3 separate regions of the Homo sapiens genome follow, and all the other regions are linked to region 3. The links are contacts of gene promoters, found by promoter capture Hi-C in human tissues and cell types (Jung and others, 2019). All regions are on one chromosome and are shown on one strand. The core of a region is centred on a gene start or on the middle of the fragment in contact, and the rest is flanking DNA. Distances in the headings are between cores, read along the strand shown.

The links. The method cuts DNA at HindIII sites, captures the fragments that hold promoters and counts their contacts. A contact is called where the count stands out against the background at its distance.
Region 1: a contact is called between a fragment that was not itself captured here and the fragment with the promoter of FAM221A in region 3, in 1 of the 25 tissues and cell types used here (dorsolateral prefrontal cortex).
Region 2: a fragment that was not itself captured here is called in contact with the fragment with the promoter of FAM221A in region 3 in 1 of the 25 tissues and cell types used here (mesendoderm cells).

Annotation. Positions count from the first base shown.
Region 1 is chr7:25,100,715-25,105,193 of GRCh38, forward strand. No RefSeq gene overlaps it. Among named protein-coding and RNA genes, the nearest start is that of CYCS, 22 kb to the right of the region's middle. The HindIII fragment of the contact is 6,269 bases long and covers 1-4,479 here.
Region 2 is chr7:24,708,657-24,713,756 of GRCh38, forward strand. It overlaps GSDME (gasdermin E), which reads right to left. Exons shown (of 10, transcript NM_001127453.2): 6 at 1,568-1,732. Among named protein-coding and RNA genes, the nearest start is that of GSDME, 46 kb to the right of the region's middle. The HindIII fragment of the contact is 5,076 bases long and covers 1-4,117 here.
Region 3 is chr7:23,678,799-23,683,380 of GRCh38, forward strand. It overlaps FAM221A (family with sequence similarity 221 member A), which reads left to right and starts at 1,401. Exons shown (of 7, transcript NM_199136.5): 1 at 1,401-1,485. The coding sequence starts at 1,421. RefSeq lists a silencer at 1,335-1,624 and an enhancer at 1,955-2,204. The HindIII fragment of the contact is 14,044 bases long and covers 1-4,582 here.

The DNA of each region.
Region 1 (4,479 bases), core at 1,199-3,698, 1.4 Mb after region 3:
ATATGGGCCCTAGGTGGTTTTTGGAGTAAGAGAAGGCTATCAGGACAAAGATGGGCACCAAGCAACTTATGAAGTGGCTTGGTTTAAAAAGCTCTACCTGTCAAGGAGAGTTAATCAAGTCAATTGAATTTTCTCACTTACGTGGTTGAATGGGGGCAGGGTCAGCTAGTCAATAGCAGGCACAGAGAAGACATCAAAAAGAAACAAATACTAAAAAGAGAAGCCATATTAACAGTAGCAAATTAGATGAAAGATCCAACAATGGCTGGGCGCAGTGGCTCACGCCTGTAATTCAAGCACTTTGGGAGGCCAAGGCAGGTGGATTACCTGAGGTCAGAAGTTCAGGACCAGCCTGGCCAACATGGTAAAACCCCATCTCTACTAAAAAATTCAAAAATTAGCCAGGCATGGTGGCAGGTGCCTGTAATCCCAGCTACTCAGGAGGCTGAGACAGGAGAATTGCCTGGACCCGGGAGGTGGAGGTTGCAGTGAGCCAAGATCGTGCCATTGCACTGCAGCGTGGGCGGCAAGAGCAAAACTCTGTCTTAAAAAAAAAAAAAAAAAAAGAAAAGAAAAGAAAAGAAAGATCCAACAACTGCTGAAGGGGCAAAACTGTTAATCTGGTCCCTAAAGCTGCTTCAGACTGTGAATAGAGTTACTTTTATAGGCCTATGCCATTCCAGCTTCCAACATTACAGTAAGTTTTTTTTCCAGTAAACCCCCATTTCTTGAGGGAGTCTGAGATCTCTGGTTCAGGCAATCAAATAAGATTAATTGACAGCAGTGTGAGAAATAGAAATTAAATGAGGTAGTCTCTGCCATCCCAGAGCTTAAATTATTGTTGGGGAGATCATATATATTAATTCATAGAATATTTACTAGTTTCATACTGCCAAATAGTATATTGTTAGGGATATAAAAAATCTTTGTTCTATTTACAAAGATAAATAGAACATTGACCCTGTCCTCCAGGGCCTCAGAGACTGTGATGGGAAATATACGATATGAAGGGGATGCCTAGCATGCAATGGGGGTGGGGGGAGTGGGTAAGAGATTGAAGATGATTCCAGTATCAGTGGTTACTGCTTCCTACTATTAGAAAAAAAAATACTACCCAATGTGTCCATCTATGTGGAGGAAGCTCAGTTAATAGAACTCATGGCATCTCCTCACTCCTTTACCTCTTCCTCTGTAAATTTAGGGAGAATTGAAATAGGCCTATATGGTTTGAATCTCTCTTTCCTTTTGGGAGCTAACATTTCAAGGAAGCAGACATTCTAACTCCTCTGTCCAGCACTGCCTGCAAGTGGGTGCTGAAATCTGTCTAACTCTGGGGTCCAGCTAGTAGGCTTGCTTGGTCTTGCCCTAAGCTTCCCAGCTTCATCTTTATCAGTAGATGAGGTGGTATTTAGTTTCCCATCTAACTTGTTCTTTGTTTTATTTTTCATTTTATTCAGGACTTGTGTGGGGAAAAGAGAGATCATTATTTGAACCCTCCTAGAGGCATCAACACCCACATTGGAGGTTTTTAAGACCATATGAACTCTTCCAACCACTACTGTCTAAGTCATTGATGAACACGGACCAAAGCCAGAACACAGATTAATCAGCAATATATGCCTTAAGGTCCGGGATAAAAAAGGATCTGTGTCAATTGTATTTTGCACTGAAATTTAAAAACGGATTTTCCAGTTGGTAGCAGGGCAGTAAGACATGTGGATTGTGGCTGAATCCCAGTAATAGTAGTGCTCTAGAGTTAAGATCCCCAAACCCTGCCATCCTCTAGCTCCTGACTCTGTGAGGCCCAGGCTTGTCCTTGAATTTCCACACGTTCCATGGGTTGCGTGTGTTGGGAGACAGTTCTCCATGAGTCTCTCATGCATCCACTCATCTTGTGAACAGAGGTACTGTTCTGGAGAATAGAGACTTAGTTCTGGATGATTTTTTTCAAGGATGTTTGTATAATGAACAGCCTTGGAAGATAAAGATAGTGTGTTCCTCTAGAGCAAAAGGCACGTTTTGTTTACCGACTAGGAAAATAAAGATAATTTCTCCCAAGGGGGCAAAGTCATTCAGGTTTAGGCTCATTATAAAAGATTCAGGTTCCCTGTGCTCTGGGATCTTTGTGTAATGTAACCCACTGCAGGCGTAGGTAATATCTGGCCATCTTTGTGTCACCCTGTGGGACTTGGAGTTAAGGAACTGACACAGAAATGATGATACTCTGGCTTTTGCTATTCTAGCAATTAATAAATTATCCCTTGTCTCTGACCAAGAGTCTTGTGTCTTTTGCCAGCATCCACAAAATGGTGGCAGGCTAACTTGTTAGCTTCCAAGTAGAGTAAAACCTCAGAATCTTTATTATTATTATTATTATTATTATTATTATTATTATTATTATATTTTTGAGACAGGGTGTCACTCTGTCACCCAGGCAGGCTGGAGTGCAATGGTGCAATCATAGCTCACTGCATTCTTGAACTCCTGGCTCAAGCGATCCTCCTGCCTCAGCCTCGCAAAGTGCTGACATTACAGGTATGAGCCACTATGCCTGGCCTTCAGACTTTTCATTATTGATAGTATATCTTATTCTTTAAAAACCCAAACCTCCAAAACTTTCCTTTATCTGAGATATCTTGATGAAATCTCTTTTCTTTGCTAGGAGCCCTGACTAGAACATATTTAAAACAAATCGTGCTGGAGAAAAAGGCAGTTCCAGCTATAGGAGTGACACAAACGTTAACTGGGTTTGGGAACTAACAGCACATGTAGACCTACCTGGAAGAGTCCAAGGAGTCACTCCAGTGAGGGACTAGCTGGGTATTTGCATAGGCCACGATTCCACTTCTTTGTCTACATCTTTTGCTCCTCATCTATGCATAGCCCAGAGGAGGTCAGTAGTGCCCCTTGCCCCATCAGCAAGTCAGCAACGATTGTACCAATAATCTCTTTTTCTTTTGAGAGATAATGTACTTAAAGCTTCCAATCTTCTTTGTGTGTTCTCAGTCACTAACTAGTACTTAGGCATAATATTTGTATATATTTATGGGGTTCAATGTGTTGTTTTGATATATGCATACACTGTAGAAAGATTAATTCAAGGTAATTAACACATCCATCAACGGCTTATCATTTTTGTGGTAAAAACATTTAAACATCTACTCTAATAGCAATTTTGAAATATACATTACTATAGTCACCCTGCTGTGCAATAAATGACTAAAACTTTGTATGCTTTGACCATTTCCCCTTTTTTCACGCTCGTCCCACCCACCGGCCAGCCTCTGGTGACCACCATTCTACTCTTTCCTTCTATGAGTTCGGGTTTTTCAGATTCTACATACAAGTGACATTATGCAGTGTTTGTCTTTCTGAGCCTGGTTTATTTCACTTAGCATAATGCCCTTCAAGTTCATCCATGTTCTCACAAATGGCAGAATTTCCTTTTTATTTTTAATTTAATTCATTTATTTATTATCATTATTTTTGAGACAGAGTCTTGCTCTGTCACCCAGGCTGGATTGCAGGGATGTGATCTCGGCTCACTGCAACCTCTGCCTCCCAGGTTCAAGCAATTTTCTGCCTCAGCCTTCTGAGTAGCTGGGATTACAGGCAACGGCCACCATGCCCGGCTAATTTTTGTATTTTTAGTAGAGATGGGGTTTCACTGTGTTGGCCAGGCTGGTCTTGAACTTCTGACCGTCTGCTCCACCTGCCTTGGACTCCCAAAGTGCTGGGATTATATTTATTTATATTTTTCTTGAGACAGAGTTTCACTGGTTGCCCAGGCTGGAGTGCAATGGCGCAGTCTCAGCTCACTGCAACCTCTGCCTCCCAGGTTCAAGTGATTCTCCTGCCTCAGCCTCCCAAGTAGCTGGGATTACAGGTGTCCATCATCAAGCCAGGCTAGTTTTTTTTTTTTTTTTTTTTTGAGATGGAGTCTTGCTCTGTTGCCCAGGCTGAAATACAATGGTGTGATCTTGGCTCAACACACAACCTCTGCCTCCCAGGTTCAAGCGATTCTCTTGCCTCAGCCTCCCAAGTAGCTGGGACTACAGGTGTGCACCACCATGCCCGGCAACGTTTTGTATTTTTAGTAGAGACAGGGTTTCACTATGTTGGCCAGGCTGGTCTCGAACTCCTGATCTCGTGATCTGCCCACCTCAGCCTCCCAAAGTGCTAGGATCACAGGTGTGAGCCACTGTGCCCAGCCTAATTTTTGTATTTTTAGTAGTGACGGGGTTTCACCATGTTGGGCAGGCTGGTCTCGAACTTCTGACCTCAGGAGATCCACCTGTCTTGGCCTCCCAAAGTGCTGGGATTACATACATGAGTCACCGTGCCCAGCGAGAATTTCCTTTTTAAAGGCTATCTAGTATTCTATTGTGTACATAGACCACATTTTCTTTATCCATTCATCTGTTGATGGAAGGCATAATATTTTTAAATTTTATTATCAGCCTCTAAACATGTCCTATG
Region 2 (5,100 bases), core at 330-2,829, 1.0 Mb after region 3:
TCCAAAATACATTATTTTTCACGTCCTTTCTTGTAGTACATTGCAGATTTTCTATCCTTTAATATTTAATGCCCATTTTTAAAGGGGCTGGCACCCTATTTTCATGGCAAGCACAGCTATTCTTTCTCTATCCTTTGCTTCTTCATGAGTCCTCAAGCTGAGCACTGAGTCCCCGAAGCTATTGCCTCTGCAGGATGCTTAGGGGCCTCTCCCCTTAGAATCTCTTTTCCTTTCTTTGTTTTTTGGTTTTTTTGTTTGTTTGTTTGTTTTTAAGATACTCAGAAGCTTCTTGTAAATTAAGTCTAGTGGAGATTTTATTTTTAAAGATTTGATAAAGGTTTCGTATGCAGGGATGCACACTAATACATCAATGTACCACCCATGAGGATGGACGATTCCAACTAGCAGTTGTATAAAGCCCCACGCAGAGGAACACAGAACATCAGTAACCAACATATTTCAAAACTCTGCTATACACACAACTGTCTTTACCAGTCCCAGCCTGAAGAGAGAAGCTGTCCTGGTCGGTCCAGTCGCACACCCAGCTCCCACTGCACCCCTGCTGACCAGAATGGCCAACTCGAAGGGTGGGCCTGTGGGCAGGACAGAAGGAAGCTGCAGCACGGGACTGCCTTCTGCTACCCAGTGGCTGCAGGGCCATTTTGCTGTGGTTCTAACCCACAATGACAAAATCCTTCAAGTGGCAGCTGAAAATTGCACCCACTTATCCATCTCAAGGAAGCCAAGATAGGAAAGCCTTATATTAAAATTGGGCCTTTGTTGTCATTTCTTCAAATACGGACATTTTTGCTACAAAAGCATCCTGGTTTGGGACTCATCGAAGCTCCACAGATGTAGTCACCAGGGCTTCTGTGCTTACCCTCCAAGCCAGCGCGCACACGGAGCGGTTCCTAGCTCTTTGTGCTAAGCTCTCACCTATTTGTTTCTCCTTTTCCTTGCCCATCTCCTCCTATATGCTGCGCCCCCACATCCCCGACAAAAGAAACCAGCTTTCTAAAGCACAATACGCTGTGAGGAGCAAAAGGAATTGCTGCAGGCACATCCTGGGCATGGCCCCTCTTCCTCTTTGGCACCATGCAGTCCATGCCATGTGGATAAAGAGCCTCCAAGAGAGCATTTTGCAAGGCTGACAAAGCATTGCTTGTCTTGACAATGAAGCCCAGAATATAACAAAACAGATGCAGAACGGGTTCTCCATCCTCGCGGCTGATGAGCCATTCTTAGTAGTCAACAGGGCTTCTGTGCTTACAATGAAAGAAAAATGCCAAGCCCCTGACTGCCTCACTCTTCAGTCTCCGACCCCTACCCCATGGAGCGTCATTCTCCCCACCCTTCCTAAAATACAGCACCCACAACCTGGGGCTCCCTAAGATCCAACCGAGGTGAGTCCTGCCGAGTGGACTGGGCCTCGGCGGCATCACCTCTCTTCTCATATGTTTTCTGTGAGTCACTGAGGGGTCACTGATGCTGAAGGCCACACCACCTCTTGGGATACAGGGCTCAGTTGGCCCTCAACTGCCCACTACTCCTGCCCTGCTGGCAATACCTTGCTTTAAAACACTTAATGGTCCATCCTGGGAAGATATCCCATGCGCAGCATCTGGCATGTCTATGAATGCAAACTCTCGAAAGACCAGGGGGTCCAGGTAGACAGAGTCAATTCTCTTCTTGTTCTCGAAGCCACCTTGCTTCCCTCGGAGAAGGCAGAACTCTGTAGTGCAGGAGAAAAGGACAAGTTAGGTAAAGTTGAGTCTAAGGTGTGCCAACAAGTCTGGACAGGGTCAGCCCAGCCTTGATGGCACATCTTAGACGTAACTCAGTGGAGCAGAAGACCCATCCATCTTCCCCATAAAATTCGATCCCTACACACATTATGTTGCTTGACCAAAAGCCCAGCCACTTCCAACAAATAAGGAAATGGCTGTTCTTACATAAAGCTCCCTAATATATATTCTCTGAACAGGCTGGACACAATCTTTAAAACATTGGAAATATTATTTTATCCTGATTTGAACAAACTGATTCTAAACAGACAAATGAAACCTGACATGCACAAAACAACTAGGAAAATCTGAACACTGATAATATTTTAAAAGTATTGCCAGTATATTTAGGTGGCCAAGTAGTTATGTGATTATATTTTTAAGAAATCAATGTTTCTATAATATATAGAATAATATACAGCAATAAAAAATAAAATACTGATGTCTGCAGTTATATGAATGAATTTCACAAACATGTTGAGTGAAAAATGGCAAACACAAAAGAATACATTCTCTCTGAATCTGTTTCTACAAAGGCAAAGCTAGTCTTTTTTCAAAAGCCTTATCATTTCAAGGTACTAAAATATTTACAGATGAAACAATATAATGCCTAGGATTTGCTTCAAAATAATCCAGCAGGAGAGGAAGGAGATGGTGAAGTTATGGCTAAAACATGAATTGCCCTAGTCACTGAAGCTGGATGGTGGGCACATGGGAGCTCACTACATTATTATCTCTACTTTTTAACATGTGGGAAATGTCCATAATAAAAAGGTTTGTTTTTGGTTGTTTTGTTTTTGTTCTTTTTGAGACAGAGTCACTCTGTTGTCCAGGCTGGAGTGCAGTGGTGTAATCTCAGCTCACTACAACCTCCGTTTGCTGGAAGCGATTCTCCTGTCTCACCCTCCCGAGTAGCTGGGATTACAGGCACCTGCCACCACACCTGGCTAATTTTTGTATTTTTAGTAAAGATGGGGTTTCACCATGTTGGCCAGGCTGACCTCAAGTTGATCCACCTACCTCAGCCTCCCAAAGTGCTGGGATTACAGGTGTGAGCCACTGCTCCAGGCGATAAAAAGTTTTTTAAATAATAAAAAGGGCCGGGCATGGTGGCTCACACCTGTAATGCCAACACTTCGGGAGGCTGAGGCAGGCAGATTGCTTGAGCCCAGGAGTTTGAGAGTAGCAACATAGTGAGACCCCGTCTCTACAAAAAAATTTAAAATGAGCTGGGCATGGTCACACATGCCTGTAATCCCAGCTGCTCTGGAGGCTAAGGTAGGAGGATCCCTTAAGCCCTGGAGGCGGAGGTTGCAGTGAGCCAAGATCGCACCACTGCACTCCAGCCTGGGCAATAGAGCAAGACCTTGTCTCCAAAAAAAAAAAAAAAAAAGGCAAAGAAATGTTTTCTCAAACACTTCCATATTTGAGAACCCAGCTAAGGTATCTAAGGTGTAGATAAAAATGTAAGTTATTACGTCCTTGCTAAGCAGAAACAGTAAATGAGCTCAAGAATTAGCATTCTCTTTATGATTCTATTTACTAACTTGTGTACGTAAGCAAAGGCTATGGAATAAAAATGTGGCAGGGCCCCGTATTTGCTGAAATGTAGAAGGCATGAGTATTAGCAAATATTTTCATTTGCTTGTGGGCATTAATGATGCTCATAAAGATAGAATGGAAAAGAAAAAGAAGAATGGCTGTCTAAAGACAAAGGAAACGATCCCTGGGCTTTACCCACCTGGCCCACACCAGCATTCAGGCTGACCCTACTCCTCCACACTTTGCGCTTAGCCACAGGGGTGCAGGAGTGTGAACCAGCACCTAGGTCATAACTTTGTTCCCTGAGGACAGGAGCCTTGACCATTCACACAGCCTCAAATTCTGCCAGAAGCCCTGCCAGGTCCCCAAAATAATGTGGAACCAACTGGCATTTTAAGAATCCACAGCACCAACCACACACCACACTCTCACCTTCACCCATGCATAGCTCCCTGAGGGCGCCACCAATTAATTCCTTCATTCTTTTCATCCATCCATCCCCAGCCAGCCAGCCAGCAAATATGCAACAATGTAAATCTTTAAAATTCCCTATACCAGGCCCCGTGCTCACAGCCACAGATACAAAGGACTACAACCAGGCCTTGACGATGAGTGTGGTAAGAGTGGGGACAGCGGTTGAACAGGGCTGAGGCCAGAGTGACCAGCGGGTGGAGGGGAGGAAAAACATCTTTCCTTCTGCTCATCCTAGGTTCATGGCTGAGGCCCCTATCACAACAGACAGATTAACAAGAGAGGCCAGGCACGGTGGCTCACACCTATAATCCTAACACTTTGGGAGGTCGAGGCGGGCGGATCACCTGAGGTCAGGAGTTTGAGACCAGCCTGACCAACATGGAGAAACCTCGTCTTTACTAAAAATACAAAATTAGCCGGGCATAGTGGTGCACACCTGTAATCCCAGTTACTCAGGAGGCTGAGGCAGGAGAATCGTTTGAACCTGGGAGGCGGAGGTTGTGGTGAGCCAAGATCGCACCATTGTACTCCAGCCTGGGCAACAAGAGTGAAACTCAGTCTCAAAAAAAAAAAAAAGGGAAAAGCACGCAACTTTACCGAATAGCAGTTTTACATGACATGGAAGCCTTCATAAGAAAATGAACATGTGAAAAAATAGTTAAATTTGAGTACTTTTTTGCTAGGTTTGAGGGACAGTGGTGGAGAAATGTGGCAGGGCAGAGCATATGATGGAAAGGCCATTCATCCAGGAACTCAGCAAGGCCTGTCTCTTCACCTCTCTGTGTCCTGTGTCGGGAGACACGGCTGCTCCTTTCCTCCAGGCAGAGGGACGGCGCCTCTCCCCTGAGGGTCTGTAACCTGCATCAGGGGAAGGTTGGAAAATCCTTCAGAGGTTTTATGACCTGCTACAGGGAGAAGGGTGAGGGGAAGGTCACAGTGACCTTCCTGCTTCTGTCATCTTTTCAAATTCCTTCACTTTAAAATATCTTAGGACTGCATGTCCTGAACCCCGTCACAGGGAAGGAGAACCAGAAAAGCCATCTGATGGTTGGGCAGGAGCAAAAGAGGCAGAGAGCACGCCCAGAGAGAGGCGCAGCAGGCCTGGGGGTGGGAGAGGGTGTGCCATGCCCCAGACCTCAGTGAGATCACGGGGCAAGTGGCACTGTGACCAGAGGGAAGGCACGAGACCCATGCTGGGCTGGCCCATAAGGCGTGACATGGTGCAGACTGCATTCTTGGGACAAAGAGCCACAGAAGGGTGTCTGAGCAGGTGAGTGAAGTGGTCAATTTTAAAACAATC
Region 3 (4,582 bases), core at 151-2,650:
GCTCACGCCTGTAATCCCAGCACTTTGGGAGGCTGAGGCGGGCAAATCACGAGGTCAGGAGATCAAGACCAGCCTGGCCAACATGGTGAAACCCTGTCTCTACTAAAAATACACACACACACACACACACAAAAGCCAGGCGTGGTGGCTAGTGCCTGTAATCCCAGCTACTCAGGAGGCTGAGGCAGGAGAATTGCTTGAACCTAGGAGGCAGAGATTGCAGTGAGTCGAGATCCCGCCACTGCACTCCAGCCTTGGAGACGGAGCAAGACCCCATCTGGGAGGTGTCGGGTGGAAGAGGTAAAATGGACAGCAGCAAACCACACGTGTGATAGGAGAGAATACTGAGCTGAGATCAGTTTCCTAAAATATGAATCCGATTTCAGGATCACTCATTTATCTGACTGTCAAGAACGCCTCTGAACAGGAGGAAGACTTTGGGGAGAGGGTGGGGTTTGTTGAAAGGGTACCGAGAAGGGAGGTGGGTGGTACCCAAACAATTTGTTTACATAATGTTTTATGGACCTGAAATATGTAGAACAGTACTTTGAAACTAAAGTACTGTACTGAAGTTTAATTATTTTTCTTATTGTTTGCATATTCTCCCTCCCAGATACTTTACAGAGGGCGCTAAAGCTGATCCCCTGGGAGCTTCAGAGTTTAATGACTTCGCCTGAAGATTTCCTATTCTTTTCCACAACGTGCTAAGTCAAATTATGGCCAAATTACCAATCGCATGGTAATTCAGCTTCTAAATATATTTTGCAGAGTGTTTCCAAAAGTTAAAAAACAACAACAAAACTTCACCTAAATTGTTTTTACTTGCTTCACCTTAAATCAGTTATTCGGTTCCTTTGAAGAACATGTAGCTTTAGCAACCCCCAAAGTGAACCCAGATACCCAGGACTACTGATTGTTACATCAGAGTTTTTGAAAACGCCAATACTGGAAACAGGCCGACAGTTAAGGAGAGGCAGGCCTCAAACTAAAGCAGAACCTTCTCAAAACTACTTATATTTCAAGAGATGGATTAAGCGAAAAGAGCTGTACAAAGAAATAAGCCATTTTCTATGCGCCTGTTATATGCAAGGCACTGCACTCCCTTGTCACTTGTTAATTTACAAGAAGACTCGCCGGTCCAGGGAAGGGAGAGGGGAATAGGTGCAAGGTTTGTGGAGGGCGGCAAACTGCACTCCATGTGGCGCGAGGCTGCGCTTGCGGAGATCCGGGTTCTGGTGCCTGGCGCCGGCAGCCAGTAGGGGCGCGCGTCCTGCGCAGTTGCCGCGCGCGGCCTCCTCGGGCTTCAGGCCGGGCCAATCAGGAGGCGGGCGGGAGGGGGCGCGGTACCGGGAGGGAACGGGGCGGGTCGGGCTTCGAGGTCAGCTGGTCCGCAGGGAAGCCTTTGGCTTCCCCACCGGCAATGGAGCGGTTGACGTTGCCTCTCGGCGGCGCGGCGGCGGTGGACGAGTACCTGGAGTACCGGAGGTGAGGCTGTGGCTCCGGGCCTGCCCCCCCGCCGCTCCGAGGGGCCAGGATCCCTGGGCTGGGGGCGCGAGCAGGGGCCCGGCGGGCGTCCGCGGGGGTTCCCGGAATCTGTGCCTGGGCTGTTGGGGGAGGCCTAGATGAATTCCAGTTTAGTCTTTGCCTAATTAAATATTGTAGGGCCACGCGGTTCTATGCAGTGATGAGTCTTCCAATAACATTTAAGAGGCCCCTCTGCTCCCTTCCAAGAAGGATGACTAACTCTAGATTGATACAGAGGTCCAGCTGTTTTTTAAATGGCCATTGAAAACAGGCACATCGAGTACTCGGGGCTATAGAAGTTAGCATACATCAAATTAACCCAGTAATTGAGTCAACCGTGAACTTCTGAACGCGCTCCCCACCCCGAGGTGCTGGTTTTAGGAGAAAGGCACCGACTGGTGTTTGGTATTCTGGAGAAACCCCTTCCGAAACTGGAAACGGAGTCGCTCCTTTGGCCTGAGGACGCGGTTCATTGTCCTGGATCCTGACCGAGGCTGGTGCACCTGCAGCGACGCGCTCTTTTTCCGCTTCCTGGGGTTTTTGATCGTCCGGAATCTGGGCGGATGGGAAGTCCTGGAGAGGACCGCCTGAGGACGCGGAGTTGGGGCGGGAGGATGTGTGTGTACAAGCGGAGGGGAGACGCTCCAGGCTCCGCCAGGGAGGCCGGAGCGAGCGACAGGGGCTCCTCTGCGGCATCGTGGGTGGCCCAGATGACCCAGAGGTGTGCGCGCAGACGGCCCCCCAGCTGACTGTTCTCCCCTGCTCTGACTGCCCTGTTTGTGTAGTTTTGGGTAACCCTTAGAACTGCCTGGATATTCTGAGCCAGAAGAATAAGGGCTAGGAGCTTGATGGGGTCAGTTCCCACGCCCGGTTCAGGGTCAGAACAACCACCATCCCGTCCTCTCCCAGAGCAGAGCCGGCTCCTTTAGCCTCCAGTTCTCCAGAGCTTTTGCCTGGGAGCAAGTTGCTGGAGCTGGTGTTGACTGATAACTTGGATATTTAGATATGTGAATTGTGGGCCTCCAGTTGACTCTTGCCTAGCTCCGAACATGTTAGGGCAGACCTATGTATGTAGTTATTTATTTTATTGAGAAATTATTTAGTTATTTATTTTATTGAGACGGGGTCTGACTCTTTCCCAGGCTGGAGTGCAGTGGCGCGATCTCGGCTCACCGCAATCTCCGCTTCCTGGGTTCAAGTGATTCTCCTGCCTCAGCCTCCCGAGTAGCTGGGACTACAGGCGGCCAGCTAATTTTTGTATTTTCTGTAGAGACGGGATTTCACCACGTTGCCCAGGCTGGTCTTGAACTCCTGGACTCAAGCTATCCACCTGCCTCGGCCTCCTAAAGTGTTGGGATTACAGGCCTGGGCCACCGCGCCCGGCTGGGAAATTATTTTTGCAATCGTAAATAACTTGCAACACTTCCCTCTGAAAGAGATTATCAGGTCCTTTACTGACGTCAGAATTTTAGAAAAGTGGGGAAAACAGGACTTGAGTACCTAGATATGAAAAGGTGGGCTGGGAAGGTGGGGTGGGAAGATGAGTCAAAATATGAGTTTAGAAGGAAACAAACTTTCCTTCCGAAGAGTTTTCCTGGATTTGCTCTTGCCTAGGTACTTCGGTGGGAGTCGGTTGGGAGGGGAAGCATGCAGCCTTGTTACTCACACTGTGGGAGGCCCTGACCAGTGTCCTGGCATCACCTGTTAGCTTGTTAGAAAAGCAGAATCTCAGGCCCACTGCAGACCTATTATTATTATTATTATTTAGAGTCTCGCTCTGTCACCCAGGCTGGAGTGCAGTGGCACTATAATGGCTGACTGCAACCTTGACCTCCTGAGCTGAAGCGACTCTCTCTTCTCAGCCTCCTAACTAGCTAGGACTACAGGCATGCATCTCCGCACCCAGCTAATTTTAAAATTTTTTGTAGAGATGGGATCTCACTAGGATGCCCAGGCTCATCTTGAGATCCTGGCCTCAAGCAATCCTCCCACCTCAGCCTCCCAAAGTGCTGGTATTACAGGTGTGAGCCACCACATCTGGCTTTATCATGTGTGTGTGTGTGTGTGTGTGTGTGTATGTATATATATATTTATTATTATTATTATTATTATTATTATTTTTTTTTTTAGATAGAGTCTTGCTCTGCTGCCCAGGCTGGAGTGCAGTGGCGCTATCTCAGCTCACTGTAACCTCTGCCTCCGTGGAAGTGATTCTCAGTGCCTCAGTTTCCAGAGTAGTTGGGATTATAGGTGCCCACCAAAATACTAATTTTTGTATTATTGGTAGAGACAGGGTTTTGCTATATTGGCCAGGCTGGGCTCGAACTCCTGACCTCAAGTGATCCTCCTGCTTCCGCCTCCCAAAGTCCTGGGATTACAGGCATGAGCCACTGTGCTGTGAGTCTTAATCTGCATTTGAGCAAGATCCCCTGGGGATTCTGTAAGTACAATAAAATTTGAGTTGCACTGGTCTAGAACTTAAATACCAATGACATCTTACTTTTAAAAGATCTTTTAAAGATCCGTATTTATCTTAAGATCTTAATACCTGTTGGTATTCTTGATAGCTACAAGAAAATGAAATGGCCCAAAATTTATCTCAGAATTAAATGCCCTTTGTTTCTTTACTATTATGTATCTAGATTGTTTATGTAAAGAAGGCGGTTTTGATTATTTCATAGCTTATAAATTGGTTTTTCTTTTTTTCTAATGGCAAGTACATAGAGCAATGGTTTTTATTTTCTACCGCAGCTAAAGGCTTCAAAGTATGGAAAAAAGCATGTATTGCACAAAAAAGTATGTAGCATTCCACAAACATCACTTTTTGTGACTTTTCAAGGGGAGTATTTTCAGGGAGAAATGTCTTCAGTTTTGGAAAAACTTCTTTTAGTCGTGCTTTCTTTTCCTCCAGGGAGGCCAACTCTTAATTTCTTTTCATAGAAATAGTGGGGGCTTTATGTTTTCCCATAATATTTTGGGTTCTTACTTCTGAAATTAACCCATGATAAACTTGATTACCTAACACACAGATGTGGTTGGAGCTTGTGCTGAGCCAAGT